2 separate regions of the Homo sapiens genome follow, and region 2 is linked to region 1. The links are contacts of gene promoters, found by promoter capture Hi-C in blood cells and fetal thymus (Javierre and others, 2016). All regions are on one chromosome and are shown on one strand. The core of a region is centred on a gene start or on the middle of the fragment in contact, and the rest is flanking DNA. Distances in the headings are between cores, read along the strand shown. Region 1 holds the start of ZNF410 (zinc finger protein 410). Region 2 holds the start of ACOT6 (acyl-CoA thioesterase 6).

The links. Contacts are between HindIII fragments. The CHiCAGO score rates a contact against its expected background, and 5 or more counts as called.
Region 2: the fragment with the promoter of ACOT6 here is called in contact with the fragment with the promoter of ZNF410 in region 1 in 4 of 17 cell types (M1 macrophages, M0 macrophages, naive CD8 T cells and 1 more); the score reaches 10.2 in M1 macrophages.

What each region holds. Positions count from the first base shown.
Region 1 is chr14:73,885,198-73,888,674 of GRCh38, reverse strand. It overlaps ZNF410 (zinc finger protein 410), which reads right to left and starts at 1,816. Exons shown (of 12, transcript NM_021188.3): 1 at 1,760-1,816. It overlaps PTGR2 (prostaglandin reductase 2), which reads right to left. Exons shown (of 10, transcript NM_001146154.2): 10 at 2,949-3,477. RefSeq lists enhancers at 1,757-1,826, 3,458-3,477 and a silencer at 1,877-2,156. The HindIII fragment of the contact is 2,164 bases long and covers 242-2,405 here.
Region 2 is chr14:73,610,991-73,614,151 of GRCh38, reverse strand. It overlaps ACOT6 (acyl-CoA thioesterase 6), which reads right to left and starts at 1,635. Exons shown (of 3, transcript NM_001365788.1): 1 at 1,120-1,635. The coding sequence starts at 1,580. It also overlaps a transcript of HEATR4 not described here. RefSeq lists a silencer at 55-299 and enhancers at 1,375-1,424, 958-1,457, 1,475-1,524. The HindIII fragment of the contact is 17,987 bases long and covers 1-3,161 here.

The DNA of each region.
Region 1 (3,477 bases), core at 567-3,066:
AAAACTGCAATGTAAATCTTTTTTAAAAATTAGTTTCACTAAGATATCGTTCACATACCATACTATTGACTCATTTAAAGAGTACAATTAAAATATCTTTAGTTCATTCAGAGTTGTACAAGCAGAACCACGATCAATTTTACAATATTTCATCACCTCACAAGGAAACCCTGTGCCCATTAACGGTCACTTCCCACTTCTAATGTGTTTACTATGAGCTTAAAGGGCTTCCATACAAGCTTCCCAGTAAGCAACTGGTAGGTACTAAATATTTGTATAATGAATGAATGACACTACAAATGATACCTACATTTTTCTCTAGTCATCTCTTCTGAACTCCAAACCTTCATTTCTAACTGCTTGCTAGGTATCTCCACATGTATATCCAACAGCATCTCAAACCTAACAATGTCCAAAATCCAGATTATTATCTTCCTTACCAAACCTGTTCTTCTTGTATTACCTATTTCAATGATCGCCCAATCTTCCTCCCACTCAGCTGCAAATTCTAGGTCTTTAAATCTCTCTCATTCTCCATTTTTAAATAATTCCCGTGATTCTCTGTTCCCAGAATGTTCTCTGTTCCCTACTGTAATGCCCTGTTTAGGTCTCTCAGTAACTTTCTACTATACTATTAAAACAGGCCTCTAACTGGTCACCCCGCGTTTAAAATTCCTCTTTCCAATACATCCTTTATGCAGCCATTCAAGTTATCTTTCCAAAACAAAGAAATGCTTATGTCACTTCTACTCAAAGTTCAGTGCCTCGGAAAAATTGTCATAGCCCTAAAGGTAAACCCCTTCGTTTACAGAAAAACTCCCCAGAGCTAGAGATTCAGCAACTTGCCAAAAATTAGACATCTACTTAGATGCAAAACGTAAAAAACTAGAACTTAAAACTTCTGACTGCTACTTTAGTTGTCTTTTACTCTGCACCACACTAAGAAAAAACCAAGTGCAATTTCTCACTCCCTAACAAAATGCCCGACTTTATTTCCAAATGTTTTTTATTTATTGCAAATATGCTGCGTTGACCTTCGTTCCAACCTAAGTACTAATTCTTAAGTCCCAAGTTAATAATATTTAACTTCCAAATGGTGCCTAAATGCATTTCTGAGCCTCATGATCAAGTGGGATAAACTTTAATAAATTGGATTATCTTGAGAAACTTCAGAAAATAAATTCGACACGAAATGTATGAAGGCCGTAAACAATCCACACACTCCTGCCCCCCGAACTGACAGGCAAAGGAGAAACGGGCGACCCAGCCCAGCCGAGTAGGCAGCTGTCCCTTTTCCAAACCCAGAAAGTAAGTGGTATGAAAGGAGAGGGTAGCTCTGGACTGAAACATTCAGGGCAAGGCCTCCTGGCATCCTCTACCCCACACCACAAAGGCCTCAGAAATAAGGCCCCAAGGTCCGTAGGCAGGCCCCGGCTGCGGGTGCAGTCCAAGAGCCCCCGCCCCGGGGACTCGCTGACTCTGGCTTTCTCAGGACAGTCTGTTCCTATATCCCTACCCCCAAAACCAAGCAAAGGAGCAAGAACATCGCCCCTAAAAACCCGCGAGGGGAAGGGCCAAAGCCGCAGGGCTTCAGACTGGCCGCTCCCGGGCCCGCCAGATCCAGGAGGGATGCCCAAGGAGGGCGGTTTCCTCTCTCGGGGCGAACTCGGCCCCAGGCCCCAAGTAGCCGGTACTGGCCCCCGCCCTCTCGGGTACTACCTAACCGAGGAGGGGTGGCCAGGCCCACCTCGGAGCTCACCTTCCAGTTCCGGGAAGCCGGCCGGCCGTCAGTCGGTCCCGAATTCCGTCCACACACAGCGTCTTCCGGCTCCCGCCGGAAGCAGCTCGAGCGCGGGACAGGAAGTTTGGCTGACCCCCCACGCACACACCCACTCGCTCGCCTCAGTGTCGTGTGGCTGCCGCACTGCTCGGGACCCAGACGTCAAGGGTGCTGGCGGGGCCTCCCCAGGCCCGCGACGCAGGGCTCCGCCCCGGACAGGAGGAGCCGCAGCCGCCCCGCTCCCACTCACTCACTCACTCTCGGCCTTCGGGACTCCTATGTCCGCGAAGCCCGAAAAAACAGGTCAGCTAATTCGTTGACGTCACTGCCACCCCGCAGTAGCGGAGGGAGTAGTTTTTCCCATCAGCGGAGGCGTTGCAATGGAGGCAAACGCGAAAGAAAAGATCACTGCTTAAACATTTATCAAAGGTCTCCATGGAGAGGACCTTCGAAGTTTCACCGCCCGAGAAAGGAACTTGCAGAATCAAGTTTTGCATTATATACGGGACGGGGTATGCAGTGAGTCTGGGTTCCGTGTTGTAATTAGGATGTAAAGAGCTCTTGGATGTCCCGACTGCGGGCTTGAACACTTGACTTCCAAGCTGGATGCCACCTTGTTAAAGCTTTGTGAGTTTGACTGACTTCTTGAAATTACTTATTTTAAAATATTTGCGTGCGGAAGAATGAGAGACTCAACCGTGGGAATTAAAGGAGTTCTCTTTAAAAAGGCATTTTCAAGGTTAAAGATAAGCCTTGATGACAGGTTTGGGTACACAAATTACTAATGGTGATTTAAAATAAAGGAGAAACATTTCAGAGGAAGATAATTCCACTTTAGAAAAGCAGAGTAGGCCGGACTCCGTGGCTCACGCCTTTAATCCCAGCACTTTGGGAGGCTAAGGTGGGCGGATCACGAGGTCAGGAGATCGAGACCATCCTGGGTAACGCCGTGAAAACCCGTCTCTACTAAAAACACAAAAATTAGCCGGGCGTGGTGGCACGCGCCTGTAATCCTAGCTACTCGGGAGGCTGAGGCAGGAGAATCGCTTGAACCCGGGAGGCGGAGGTTGCAGTGAGCCGAGATCGTGCCGCTGCACGCCGGGCGACTGAGCAAGACTCCATCTCAAAAAAGAAAAGAAAAGAAAAAAGCAGAGTATAAGATGCAATCCAGAGTTGAGGATATTTACTTGGAGGTAAAGGTCCAGTGCTCAAGAAAGAGGTCAGAAATACAGATGGAGATTTGGGAGTTAGCAACATACAGAGAAAAGTGAAACCCCCTCAGGCGATGAAATGGTCCAGGAAAAGTAACAAAAAAGGGCCACTCACGAAAACTGGGGAGGCTGATTACCAACACAGTTTGAATCTACTTATTACAAATGTTGCATACAAAAGTATATTGGCAGTGTGTAGACAATCATAAGCCAAAACATTCAGAAACAATAATCTTCAGTTTTACTGTTCTGCGAGGGTTGAGTACAATTAATAAAACAAACTTTTGAGGTACATCAGTAGTTCCTGAACATTCATGTTTACAAACATTTGTTAATTTGCCCAGTCCTGTCATTTTCTGAAACTGTCTTTGTTGTCAATCTGTTTTTGTTTTTTGAGATGGAATTTCACTCTTGTCGCCCAGGCTGGAGTGCAATGGTGCAAGCTCAGCTCACGGCAACCTCCCCCTCCCAGGTTCAAATGATTCT
Region 2 (3,161 bases), core at 386-2,885, 270 kb after region 1:
TCAGCTCACTGCAACCTCTACTTCCTGATATCAAACAATCCTCCCACCTCAGCCTCCCAAGCAGCTGGGACTACAGGCATGCACCACCATGCCTGCCTAATTTTTTTTTTTTTTTTTTTTTTTTTGTAGAGACAGAGTTTCACCATGTTGCCCAGGCTGGTCTTGAACTCCTGGGCTCAAGTGATCTGCCCACCTCAGCCTCCCAAAGTGCTGGGATTACAGGCCTGAGCCACTGTGCCCGGCTCATCATTTTTATATGGTAGAGGTTTAAGTCAGGAATTTAGTTAGAAGGGATTAATCAGGAGTCTTCTTTCTGGGCTACCTTTACCTAGCAAACATCCTGTGTTTACTTAGACTAGGGTTCCTCAACCTCAGTAGTACAGACATTTTCAGCAAGATAATTCTTTGTTCTGGTGGTTGTCCTGTGCATTGTGGAATGTTTAGCAGCATCTCTGGCCTCTGCCTGCTAGATGCCAATAGCACCTCTCCCTTCAGATATGACAACCACAAATGTCTCCAGATATTGCCAAATTTCCCCCAGGGAGGGCGGCTAATCATTGCAGGTTGAGAACCACGTACAGCATGTTTATGATAGAAGGGAGAGGACTGTCAGGCAGTTTTGTGTGTGTTTTTAAACAATTAAAGGGCATTGCCAATACTGTGGATTTTAGCTTCTTTGGAAGTTTGATGTGAAAGGAGGCAAAAATCCTTCTTGCACATCAGCTTAAGGTTTTGCCCATATCGTATTCAAACAAAACCACATGGCTGGCACATAGTGGCTCTCAATAAATATATAATAAGTTGAATGCACTATTCAGCACATAGCTAAAGTGGTGGTGCCTCCAGGGAGGGACGTGAAACTTAAAAAGGAAAGACTGGAGTAGCTACTCAGGAGGCTGAGGCGAGAGGACTTGAGCCCAGGAGTTCGAGGCTGCAGTGTGAGCTACGATCCAGCCACGGCACTCCAGCCTGGGCAACAGCGGACGCCCAGACTCAGAATCCATGACAGACTCTGGAGCGAAGGAACAAGTTCAGGGATGTTCCACAATCACGCGATTCCCAGGACAGGAAAGGGGCCGGTGGGGGTCGCAGAGCTCGACCAAATTCTGGGCAGACTACTCATCCGGCGGCAGGAAGAGCGCGGCGCGCACCGGGCCCGCGCGCACCGGCTCGCGCCGCACCCCCGGCCGGAGAAAGTCGCGCTTGTTCTGCGCCAGGCACAGCAGCCGCCCGGGCTCGGTGTCGTGGCCGTCCAGCACTTCCAGCTCCACGGCGAAGGGCGTCCGCACGTCGCGCTTCACCAGCCGCACCAAGGCTTTCTCGGGCTCCAACGCCCACAGCAGCCCCATGGGCTGGAGCCCCGCGAAGCTGCCTCCCAGCGCGGGCGCGCGCTCCAGGTCCAGCTCGTCGCGGGCGTCGGCACGGTAGCGCGCGTGGGCCCGGAAGAGCGCGCCCTCTTCGTCGCGCAGGGACGTGCGCAGCGTGACTGGCTGCTCCGGGGCCAGGCCGCGCACTGCGATGCGCAGCGGCTCGTCCCAGCAGCAGCGGCCCGCGGGCTCCAGGATCAGCGTCGCTGCCATCCCAATCTGGGTAGAACAGGGGCGACCCAGCTCCGCGGAGTCAGTGGGCGGGCCTGGCGGCTTTGCCGAGCGCTGGAAAGTAGTCGAGGGCGGAGCCCTTAACACTACTCCCATTGGTTGGACTTGGGGACAGGCTCCAGGCCGCTGCGTGGGGCGCCTAGAATTTGTGCAAATACACCAGTGTCCCAAATGAAAGAGTATCTGCTGAAATAAGAGTTAATGACCAATCCGGCCGGGGGCGGTGGATCACGCCTGTGATCCTAGAACTTTGGGAGGCCGAGGTGGGTGGATCACACCTGAGGTTAGGAGTTCAAGACCAGCCTGACCAACAGAGTGAAACCTCATCTCTACTGAAAATACAAAATAGCCAGGTGTGGTGGCGCATGCCTGTAATCCCGGCTACTTGGGAGGCTGAGGCAGAAGAATTGCTTGAACCCAGGAGGCAGAGGTTGCATTGAGCCAAGATTGCACCATTGTACTCCAGCCTAGGCAACAAGGGCAAAACTCCGTCTAAAAAAAAAAAAAAAGAGTTAATGACTATTCCTGCAATCCAATGTGGTGAGTGTCGAAATAGAGGCACAAAAACCACTGAGAGCTAAAGGATTGAGAGAGATACAGTCCAAGAATCTAGATTTTGAAAAAGCATCCCAGGTGATTGTACTCAGGTGACCCCTTGGAGAAACATGGTCGTAATCCGTCCTTTACCCCTCAGTCCCTTACCAAGCCTTTTTTCCAGGGCTAATGGTACCTGGAGCAAAGCAGATGTTTAGGGAGGCAGACCTAGCCGAGTTCTGGTCTGACCCTGATCCTTAATATTAATACCTGGTGATCTTTAGCAAGAAACATAACCCTCTAAATTCAGTTTTCTTATCTGAAAAGGCTTATTGTGACCATTAAATGGGCTAATGTGTAAAAACACTACACTGACACACCTGTAGGTTAGTACCCAGTGAAAGTTTTGTTTTGTTTCTTACCTCACAAATCTAATCACTGGCAGAGTCCATTTTGGGTTGTATGCATACAGAGTTCTGGCAGTAAGCAAGTGGCACTCTCAGCCTGTGTAATTGAGGAGAGTTTTATAAAGGTACTATCTACAAAGGCATGGGCAAGATTTAAAAACAAAAACAATGAAACAAGATTCGGTGTAGAACCCTGAATCTGAAGGTTCAAGGGAAGGGGGCAGTCTGATAGGAGTTGTACCTTTTTTAGAAGGAACCTATGGTTTGTGGCAGGAAGGAGGAGACTATAAGTCCCTTGACTCTCCTCTTGTTTTTCAGTATCTTGCTAATGCCTCTCTTTGGCCAAACCCAACCACACAGCTCAACCTAGCTGGGAACATAGCAGGGTGGAGAAGGAAGAAGAGCATATAGTGATGCCCAGCTCAGTAAACATGTATAAACTGAACAAAAAGGTATTAGACTCTATGAAGCAAGTTCACTGTATGCTGGTTACCAACTTGTCTGAGTCCAGTGAGAAAACACATTCATATATTTAATACAACAATTTACATGAACTGGATTTATTACTTACAGATAGGCAGCAAAGAATGACAGAAGCCTAAGAATCATTGGAAACCAGTCC